Linked DNA regions of Homo sapiens: region 2 is linked to region 1. Evidence: promoter capture Hi-C in human tissues and cell types (Jung and others, 2019). All regions are on one chromosome and are shown on one strand. Each heading gives the region's core, a stretch centred on a gene start or on the middle of the fragment in contact. The rest is flanking DNA. Distances are from core to core; before and after follow the strand shown. Region 1 holds the start of PTGS1 (prostaglandin-endoperoxide synthase 1). Region 2 holds the start of LHX6 (LIM homeobox 6).

Region 1 (5,165 bases), core at 1,261-3,760:
TTGAGCATTCAGGGCGCCCCCGGCACAGCCTTGCCTCCAGGCTGGCCTCCATCTCCTCACCCACCAGAGAGGCAAAAGCAGCATTCTCTCCCTCCGCCTGCCCTCTTAGGTGAGTGCAGCCCTCATCTCTTCATCTCCTTTGCCTCTAGAGGTAAAAGACAGGCTTTGGCTTCCTGGGGCAGATGCCCAAGTAGCTTGGCCCTCAGTTTACTCGCAGACTTGGAAATATGAGGGCAACCCAGACCTTCTGCCCCTGCACTCCACCAGTCATTCGTTCTTTCCTAGATCCTTGCAGGAGCCTCGGTACCAGTTTTCTGGCCTCCAGTCTCATCCCCACATTACGCATCCAACCTCAGCCTCCTGCTCCACATTACCCTTACGGTGTTTCCTGGTCGAGTCTCTTAGTGTTTCCCCCACCCGCCACCTCCTTCGAGGTCCAGTCCAAAAGTCATCAGATCCAAGAAGCCTCCCTCAATTCTTCGCACTGAGAGGCAGCTGCTCCCTCCCCTGAGCTCCGCACACCCCTGCTCCCTTCCCTGGGCTCCCTATACCCCTGCTTCCTCCCATGAGCTCCGCACAGCCCTGGTCCCCTTGGATGACAGTCTGTTGGCATTTCTGGCTCCACCATCAGCCTGTCAGCTCCTCCCAGCTCCGTGTCTCCAGGCCCCAGCCAAAGACTGGCATAAATAACCCTTGGGGATAAAAAAAAACAATTCCGTGTAAACATTTATTATACAAAAGGAAACAGAAAAGGCAAAAAACAAAATAGCACAGACCATGGCTCATTGTGCATTAGTGAATGGACTAAAAAAGAATACAGACGGGTGGGACCTGTATACCAAGAGTGCCTGGATGAGGCCAGATGGGGCCTCAGAGGAAGTGCTGGGCTGATCCAGGGACTGACAAGATGGGTCAGCGAGGCAACCTGAAGAGCCCCTTCTACTCCCCACCACCAGCTCACTGTGAGGATTCAGACAAGTGGCTTCACTCCCTCTGGGCCTCAGAGTCCCCTTCTGTAGACTGGGTCTAACGCATCTCTCTGGCAGGGCTGTTGAGAGCACCAAAGAGGTGGATGTCCACAACCAACCTTTGTAAACTTTAAAGTGCTGGCCACATGAGTCTTCCTCCTCCTCTTCCCATAAACCAGACTTTTATTCAACGCAATCCCTTTCCTAGAGCACCCTCCGTCCTCTCTTTGGGTCCCCTAAATGCCACCCACCCAAAGCCCGTTTCAGGAAACTTGGTCTGATCCAAAATCCATGTACATATCTTTCCTCTTTCCCCCACGCACCAGATCCTTAGAGCATCACAGCAGAAAGTGCGGACTCCCTCTGCTCCCTCCTGCCCTCTCTGGGCCTCATTTTAGAGATTTTACACAGCTAGGTGGTGGAGGAAACTATATCCAACTGGGACACATGCTCACACACACGCACACACACAAGCAGCGAGCTGGGGGAGGAAGGTTGGCTGAGCGAGGAGCTGAATTCCTTCACCTGGAACCTGGCACATGCATGGGGGAGGGAAGGGCGGAATTTCCCCATCAACCTCCCCCATGAAACCCAGAGTGGCTCCGGGTCCATTGTGGGTAGAAGCAGCTTTCTGTGGAAAGACCTTGCGAAGTGTGTGGACGCAGACAGACCTGAGTTCAGATCCTGGGCCCACCATGTATTTTGTGAGCTTGGGGAATCATGGCACCTACTGAGCCTCGGTTTCCTCATTTGCTCAATGGGGATCTCTTAAACCCCAGATGAAGCATCCCGGCTCCTAAATGTATTTCCATCTCCCATGTTCTCCCGAAGTCTTCACCAGGGGAGACCTTCTCCACTGGCAATGGGAATCAGGATGGGTTCCCAGACGGTTAGAGGCTGGAGAAAGGGAACTCATTTCCCTTGGTGCCTGCGGCTTCCTCCCAAAGAGGCCCCTATAGGAAACAGCGGGGTTGTTGGGTGCAGAGGCTGCTTAGACATCTGGGGCCCAGAACAGGTGAGGGGGATGGATAGGGACTGTCCCTTCTCCCCAAGTTGGCACCAGATCCCAGTCTGCTGTTTCCCCTGAAAGAACTAGATAGCCCATTAGCCAAGGCCACACCGCCGGGGGGGCTTCAGGGAGCCCCCATCCCACCAAAAGACTCAGCCTCAGTCTTTCTCAGCACCGCGAGCAGAAAGGGGAAGCTGGGCCCGCTGGAGGGGAAAGGAGGGGGTTGAAACCAGGCCAGGGGCGCAAGACCGGGGATTCCCTTGGGGAGGGATGGGGCCGCCTACCTGGCGTGGGCGCCCCTGGGTCCGCGAGCAGGACGGGGAGCGGCGGGAGCAGGAGCAGGAACAGCAAGAACCAGAGCAAGAGACTCCCTGCAGAGGAGAGAGATGAGGGGCTGAGCCTGGCATTCAAGGCTCCACCAGGAGGCCAAGAAAATTCCCCACCGGGCACCGGGGTCGCACTCACGGCTCATGGCGCGGCTGCTGGGGTGCGGGACGCAGAGTGCAGGCTCCTGTGCGTGCGCCTCGCACACTGCCCGGAGCTCCAGCCCATCCCCTCCCCACCCTTCCCCCGGCTCCACCCCCGCTCCTCCCTCCAGCTGTCACCTCGGCTGCCCGCTTACTTCCTCTGCCCAGCCCCGGCCAAGGCATTTTATTAATTAGTGTATGCTCGCCGCTAAAGCGGCTTTTCACCCAAGATCCTTGAAGCACTTACGTTTCTGATGCCTGGTGGCACTAGATATAGACAGGAAACTGAGGCTCAGAGACGATGCTCAATGCTGAGGTCACCCAGGGCTTAGGGACAGAACTGGGGATGGAAGCGGCTCGTCTGAACCACATACCCTGCCCCGCAGAGAAGAAAGGGTCTCAGAGTCCCCTTCTGTAAAATGGGTCTAACGCACTCTACAGAAAAGGGTAGAGAAGAAAAGGGGCTAGAAACAGGGCAGTCTGCAGAGAAGAAAGGGGGCTAGAAATGGGGCAGTCCAGCCTGGCCTGCTGATGGTTTCCTAGATGAGAAACTCACTACTCCTCAGACAGATCTAACAGGAAGGACTTACTTCCCCCATGGGCTGGGCTCCGCCCCCTGAAGCCACAGGTCTCTGCCAGAAATGAAAAGACCGGGCTCCAAACTCCAAGAGAGCCTAGTTCAAATCCAGACTCCACAGCTTACTGGCCGTGTCACCTTGGACAAGGTACTTATCTTTTCTAGCCCTCAGTATTCTCATCTATAAAATCGGCTTAATAGCAAAAACCATCCCAGAGGGTGGTTGTAAGATTCAATGAGGGAATGCACACAAATCTCCTGGTGCAGTGTCCAGCATGTAGTAGGTGCTCAGTTATCGGAAGGCATTTTTTCAAAGATCTCTGAACTCAGATTCCAGGGCTGGCCAGGGTCCATGCTGTAGCTAGACTCACATCCACCGCCGAATTTATAGAATCCCAGCATCCAGCTCTCCTTTTCGCCAGCTCAGGAAGCACCTAGAAGGAGGAAGGAATAGGTCCAAGATCACCCAAAGTCCCATGGTGCTGGCACCCACAAGTCATCTCCCTCAGTTTCCCCAGCACACCCAGCCATCCTGTGGGCCCCACAGTGGGGAAAGCCGGCAGGAGAGCTCAGAGGTTCTTGTGCTGGCTCCTGGGCATCACTGGGTGCAGGGTAGAAATTATGCCAGGTGGGAGAGGTGAAACCTGCTGGGAAGCCCCTCCCCCATTCTCACCCAAGCTGTTCCCATGCTCCCCTGGGACAAAAGCCAGCTGCCCTAGGGAGACAGAGCAAGCCAGGGCAGACCTGGAGAAGGAGTGGGGCATTGGAGGGCCCTGGGGCTCTCAGGGTGCCGGGACCGGCTTCAGCCTTCCCTTCCTCCCCAAATCAAGGGCCCCCTAGCATTTACAGGGCAAGGAGATGGGATTATCAGCAAAAGGGATGGGGACAGGGTGGAGGTGTGGGGGTCCAGTTGTCCAAAGAAAGGGGGAGTTTCTGGTGAGAAGAAAGGAGAGACGGGCTTGAATGAGGTTCCATCTTCCACTCCCAGGCCCTCCCTCCCTTTGGGCCCTGAGCCCATCAAGTCACCACACCTGTGCCTCCTGCTGACTTCCAAGCCACCCATCTGCACTCAAAACAAGAAACACTTGTGTGGCCCTGGCACTGATGGGAAGAGCCTTCACCTCAGAATCAGAAGTGAGTTCAAGTCACTTCTTCCATAGCGTGACCTTAAACAAGCCGCTAGGCCTCACTGGGCCTCTGTTTCCCCATTTGAACAACAGAATGAGCAGATCAGATGGTCTCTGAGGACTGGTCCAGTTCCAGCATGGAGCAATTGAGCCCTCACTGCAGCCAGGCTCTGTGACCAGCACCACAGATCTCAACACAGCTGCAATACAGGAGAGGATGGAGTCTGAGAGAGCAGGCAGGGTGCCGAGGCAGCCCTCCAGGGATGAGGCAGGACCAAGAGCATGGAGTGGGGAGAAGGTAGATGAGAGAAATGGTGGCAGAAGTGCCAGGGCTTGGTGACCGATTAGCACTAGAGCTTAGGGGAAGAAAGGTGCTGAGGACACCTAGCCTTCTGGCTCAATGCTGGTGGTAATATCCAGGGAAGGGGAGCTGGCATGGGTAGGTGGAATTTGAATTTGGGCTTCTTGTATTTGATCCACTTCAAGGAATGAGGAGGATCAAACCTTCCCTGCCTTCTCCAGCTTGGCCCATGGGCCAGCACCCCCAACCGCCCCAGCATGCAGCTGGATACACAGGGGAGAGGTCTGGGGTAGCCCTTGCCCCAGCCCTGGGAAAGAGACCACAGCACAGGGCCACCTTTTCCTGCTCCCTACTGCAAAGCTATAGTCTAAATGCCTAGGACTGGTGTCACCATCCTAGTCCTCAAGATTGTGAGCTTCCACTTATAGGGCAAGTCCACCTCCCATGTCCCCTGGTAGGCCTCCTCTAACATGCCTCCTCCTCCCCCTTCTCTCCTCTAGGAAGCCCCTGTGCCTTCCCTGGCCACAGCAGTGCCACTCCTGATCACATTGTCCCTCTGCCCCCAAACATTATGAGGCTATAAGAGTCCTGGTCACTCTTGTAGCCCCAAGGCCAAGCATAGGATCTGGCGGATAAAAGACATCCAGGGAATGTTTGTTGCTTGAACAAAGAAATGAATGAGTATCTAAAAGAGTAGTGAATGCATTAAAAAAACA
Region 2 (5,165 bases), core at 1,452-3,951, 140 kb after region 1:
TCAGAATTCAGGAGCAGAATTGCATAGTAGGTAAGAGTTTGGGTTCTAAAATCTGAGTGCCAGAGCTTCAGATGGGACTCCTGTAAGCTTGTTTCCTCAACTATAAAAGAAAGATAATAATATAACCTTTTTGTAGGGTAGTTGCAAGGATTAAAGAGGATAATGCGTGTAAACAACAAAGGGCTTAGCACATAAATGCTCAATAAATAGTTATTATTGTTATCACTCTAGGAGCACATGCTTCACATTCCCCCTCATTAGAGTGCAGCAGCTTGTTTGTCCAGCCTCTGAACCTTTGTGGTCCTCTCTCTACCTGAAATACTTTCTTCTTCTCCCTGAACCCATCCAAATTTCACCTGCCCTTTAGTTTTAGCTCAAGCCTCTTCCATGGCTCATGTCTAAGAAGTTTTGCAAAGCCAGTACGATCTTCATGGTCTTCTTTCCTGGGGCCCTTCTGCACTCACAAATCTGGCATATGTGCAGCATTCTATAACGTTTATTAACCTTTCAATTCCCCCAGCCACCCAAAGGGGAGGAAGAGAAGGAGGTAAAGCAGGTCCTATTGTTATTCCCATTTTGCCGATGAGAAAACAGGCTGAGCCTATAAGTGGTGAGGCTGGGAGTCACATCCAGGTCTTTTAACAGATAATGTGGAGTGTGTGTGTATGTGTGTGTGTGTGTGTGTGTGCACATGTGTGTGTGCAGAAAGTAAACATGGTCATGTCTGCAGCCTAGAAATCAAGAGTATGAGCTCTAATGTGAGATGAATGTGGTTTTAAGTCCTTGGTTCTGGCAATTAGCCATGTGCACCATTTTGGATATATCACATGAACTCTCTGAACCTCAGTCTCTTGATCAGTAAAACAAGCACGCTGAGAGATGCTACCTCACGGGATTATTGTGAAAAGAAAATGAGATCACGATTGTAAAATGCCTCGTATCATGCCTGGCACAGATTAGTAGCTGTAATAACTGGGAATAATCCCAGTAGTAGCTGAAATTATTATGTGCAAAGGAGATATTTGAGAGGGAGGGGTTGTTCTTCTGTATTCATGTTTGAGAATGCATGTGTATGTGTGTACACATGTGTACCTATGCATACACCTCACCCGCTTTCACATTGCAACTTGTTCTCTTCGTATAAAAGATTAGGGTTCAAAGAGAAACTCTTTTCACTCTGAATTTCTGTGTCTGAGAGCAATGAATGACTGGGATGCAGAGGGCGGGAAATGCCATTAGCTGAGGCTGGGGCTATTTTTGTGTACCTTGATGCCAGTAAAGGAACAGATATTTGTATCTTTGGGGAATATGGGTGTGGATCTTTAGTATCGTGTTGGTGTGCAGGCATCCTCTACTACCTGCGCCTGTCAGAACCTGCCTGTGTGTGTGCAAACTGAGACTATAACTATTGGGAATCTATGGCTGCAGAAGTGTGTGTGATGTGTCTGCCTATAAATGCCTATCAATAGTTGTCTCACCATCTGTAAGGATGTAAGTACATATTTGAGGGTGCCTGAGTAGAGGACATAAGGTTATACATGGGTTTGGAGCTCTGTGAAAATCTGTGCCCTCTTGAGTATGGCTGTGTGTACAAATGGAAGAACAATTGTGTGTGGGGGGGTGTTTACATCTGTAAATGAGGGCAATTATGGAGGTGATGACATGTGTGATGTGGTGAGGGTAGGCTGTCATGGTGTCTGTAGGGCTGGATCTATGTCTGAGTGTGCTTATTTGTTTTTAGATGATGTATGTTTACATGTGTCTCTTTAGGCTCAGTTTGTGTGTGGAGAAGGGGGCTGAGACTCTAAGTGTCCACTTGTGTATGCTGCAGGGCGTTAGTGTGTGTAAGGCTCCATCTTTGGGTTTGAAGGTTCTGTGTCTGTGTGTCTGGGGGCAGTGTCTTCTGTCTAAATGCCTGGGCCTTCCTGCCTTCCCTACCATTCTCATTGTCAGTAGAACCCTAGAGAAGAAGGGATGGGCATTGGACTGTGTGGTTAAGCAAATCCTGAAGGGAAGGGGAATGTGCCAAGCAATCCCTTCCAAGAGAATTCAGGGAAACTACCCTCCCGTTTCACCTCAGTCCCTGGGAGCTGGTGCACTGTCTGGTTCTTATAGAGCAGAGGTATCTGTGCAGGTGTGTGAGAGTAAGTGTGGTGCCTCGTGCCCGTGTAAATGATGTGAACAGGTAATCACTTACATTAGTGTGTACACAAATGTACCAGGCATGGGATTGCATCAACACAGTGTAATAACGTGTGACCTCCTACGGAATCTATCTCCGCAGATGGTATGGCCATGGGTCCCTCCTGTACCTGTGAGTGGGGCAGTGTCTGAGGAAGATGGGTGCCCCTTGAGGGAGGAGCGGTAGTGAGAGCTGGGTGGATGTGTGCCCGCCGGTGCCTTTGTGTACTGGCGTGTCTCCGAGTCTCTCTGTCGGCAGCTCTGAGTTTCTGTGTGTCTCTGTGTCTGTGTGTGTGTCTCTCTCTCTGGGTCTCTGCCTCGTCGTGTGTGTCTTGCTCTCCCTTGGCGGGGAGGGGATTGGTCACGCATGACTCATCTTGAACCGAGCGGGGCTCCAGCGGCAGGGCGGCCGCCGTTGCAGCTGGAGGGGGAGGAGGACAAGGAGGAGGGAGAGGAGGAGGAGGACTACCAAGAGGGGGAGGAGGAGAAGAAGGAGGGGGCGGGGGCCTCTCCAAGTTTGTCGGGACCTTCTTCCGAGGCAGCGGCGGCAGCAGCCAGGGAGGCCGGGGCTGCGCGCGGGCCGGGGGCGGGGGCTGAGGCCGGGCCCGGGGCGGCGGGGCCGGCGCCTCGGCTCTCCTCCTGCTCCTGCAGCAGCCTCTGCTCCCACTGCGGCTGTGGTCCCCCTCGGCGCAGCTCTCCGCGCTGCGCGCCCGCTGAGCCCGAGGTTCCCCGGCCCATGTACTGGAAGCATGAGAACGCCGCCCCGGCGTTGCCCGAGGGCTGCCGGCTGCCGGCCGAGGGCGGCCCCGCCACCGACCAGGTGAGCCGGCGAACGACTGGGTGAGCGGCCCGGGCCGGGGTCGGGCAGGGTCCGGGACCCAGCCGGGCCGAGCAGGGTGGCGGGCGGTTGCAGGAAGGAGGGGTACGAGGGTGCGCCTGTGAGTGTGTGCTTGTGAGTGTGGGAGCGCGCGCGCGAGCGGGGGGGGGGGGTCGCGGAAAGCGGGAACACATTATGCAAATGTTGGAGGAATTTCTCAAAAAGCGATTTAGTAAAGACACAGGCGAATCAAGAGGAGGCGAGGCCGGTATTGTCCGTCTGAATAGGCGCTGATAGCGCCGATGCGCCGGGGGTTGTGCCGGCGCAGCGCTGAGAATCCCGACGCGGGGCCGGTACCCGGCGCGCCGAGGGGCTGGAGGGTGCTTTTTCCTCCCCTTGAGCGCCTCTCTTTTCTCTTTTTGGTCCCGTTTCGCCCCGATCTCGCTCTCTTTTTGCTCCGGGTTTCCCTCCGACTGGCCCTCGAAAGGCGCCTGAATCCGTGTCAATATAGCTGCTTCAATTTCGCCGCGCGTGTCAGGCGGGCGGGCGGGCGGGTGCTCACCGCGCTCGGGGTTTTCTTTTCTTCAACCACCCTCCGCCCCTCACCCATCTCTTTTTTATTTTCTTTCTTTCTCTCTTTTCTCCTTTTTGCATTTTGTGCCGAGAGGAGAAGGGAGCGAGGAAGGGGAGTGGGGTGGGGGGGCGGGTGGAGAGAGAAAAAATTCGATTTTTAATTACTACCATTAAAAAATCAAATTTGCAATTCTTTGGGCGGCCTGATGGATCTCACTGATTGACAGTTGGAATTGACACTCTGGCTACCTCTTATCTTGGGCATTCACGACAATTTCTAATTGCAGGTAGTTTGTGTGTGTGTGCGCGTGTTTTTCTTCCCCCCTCAGAGGCTTGGATTGCAAGGGAACTAAGCGATTACTTCAAGAGCCACGGGTTAAGTGCAGGGAGAGGGGGAGAGAGAGGGAAAAAATCCAATCCAAATTCAAATTGCTTCATTAGAGAGACACCGCTTTTGTGGGGAAGGGCTTTAAATGCCCACTACAAAGTTAGGACTCATTGTTCGGCGCCGGTTTATATAACAGGCGCGGGGAGGCGCTGGGCTCAGGCTGTGCGGAGCCAGTTCAGCAGCCGCCGCCGCCTGCGTTCCCTCCCCCCCTCCCCCAGGTGATGGCCCAGCCAGGGTCCGGCTGCAAAGCGACCACCCGCTGTCTTGAAGGGACCGCGCCGCCCGCCATGGTGAGTCCGTTTGGCCCTGCCTGCGGTGCCCAGTCCTCCAGCGGCCCGGCCCTGGGGACCTGGCCAGGTTTTCCGGCCACGAACTGCTGCTCACGCTCTGGGGGACTCCCGGCGGGCGCCGCCCCTCTCTGAGCCTCGGTTTTCCGGCAGGGAATGTTGGCTTTAACCGCTCCCAGCACCCAGAATGCGCGTGTTAAAAGTTGGGGCCGTCCCTTCCTCTCCAATAGGCCCTTCCATCCCTGTCCTTCAGTCTACGGCGCATTGTCCTGGGGAGATTTCGTTGTCAATTGGTGCTCGGGGGCCCCAGATTTGTCTCCAAGGCAGCCCCAACTCTGGGTGCCCGGATCAGCGCTCCTCTCCTTCTCTCCCCCGCCGCAGGCTCAGTCTGACGCCGAGGCCCTGGCAGGAGCTCTGGACAAGGACGAGGGTCAGGCCTCCCCATGTACGCCCAGCACGCCATCTGTCTGCTCACCGCCCTCTGCCGCCTCCTCCGTGCCGTCTGCAGGCAAGAACATCTGCTCCAGCTGCGGCCTCGAGATCCTGGACCGATATCTGCTCAAGGTGAGACAGGGGTAGGTGTTGCGTGCGTGTTGTCGGGGCGTGGGACGCAGCGCAGGAGACTGCAGGGAAGCACCGCAGGTCCTCTTACTTCCAAATCCTGGCTCCACTGCTGCCCGACTGCGAAGCTTTGGGCAAGACTTAGGGTCTGCCTGAGCCCCCGGGTTCCGTCTGAAAAATAAGAAGAGTTTATTTCCATTTCCCTGAGTCTCAGTATTACGGGAGAAAAATAGGGGAATCGCATGCACCTTCTGAGCTTCAGCGCCTCTGACTGTAAATGAGACCGGGAAGGCTGGGGCCCGGAGTGAAAGAGGCCCGCGCTGAGCCGACCTCCGTCCCCGCCCCGTCCCCAGGTCAA

Evidence for each region. Contacts are between HindIII fragments. The study calls those that stand out against the background at their distance.
Region 2: a contact is called between the fragment with the promoter of LHX6 here and the fragment with the promoter of PTGS1 in region 1, in 1 of the 25 tissues and cell types used here (adrenal gland).

What each region holds. Positions count from the first base shown.
Region 1 is chr9:122,368,369-122,373,533 of GRCh38, reverse strand. It overlaps PTGS1 (prostaglandin-endoperoxide synthase 1), which reads right to left and starts at 2,510. Exons shown (of 11, transcript NM_000962.4): 1 at 2,443-2,510; 2 at 2,262-2,348. The coding sequence starts at 2,449. The HindIII fragment of the contact is 15,948 bases long and covers 1-5,165 here.
Region 2 is chr9:122,226,493-122,231,657 of GRCh38, reverse strand. It overlaps LHX6 (LIM homeobox 6), which reads left to right and starts at 2,701. Exons shown (of 10, transcript NM_014368.5): 1 at 2,701-3,001; 2 at 4,178-4,249; 3 at 4,628-4,810; 4 at 5,161-5,165. The coding sequence starts at 2,918. RefSeq lists an enhancer at 4,469-4,974. The HindIII fragment of the contact is 8,045 bases long and covers 1-5,165 here.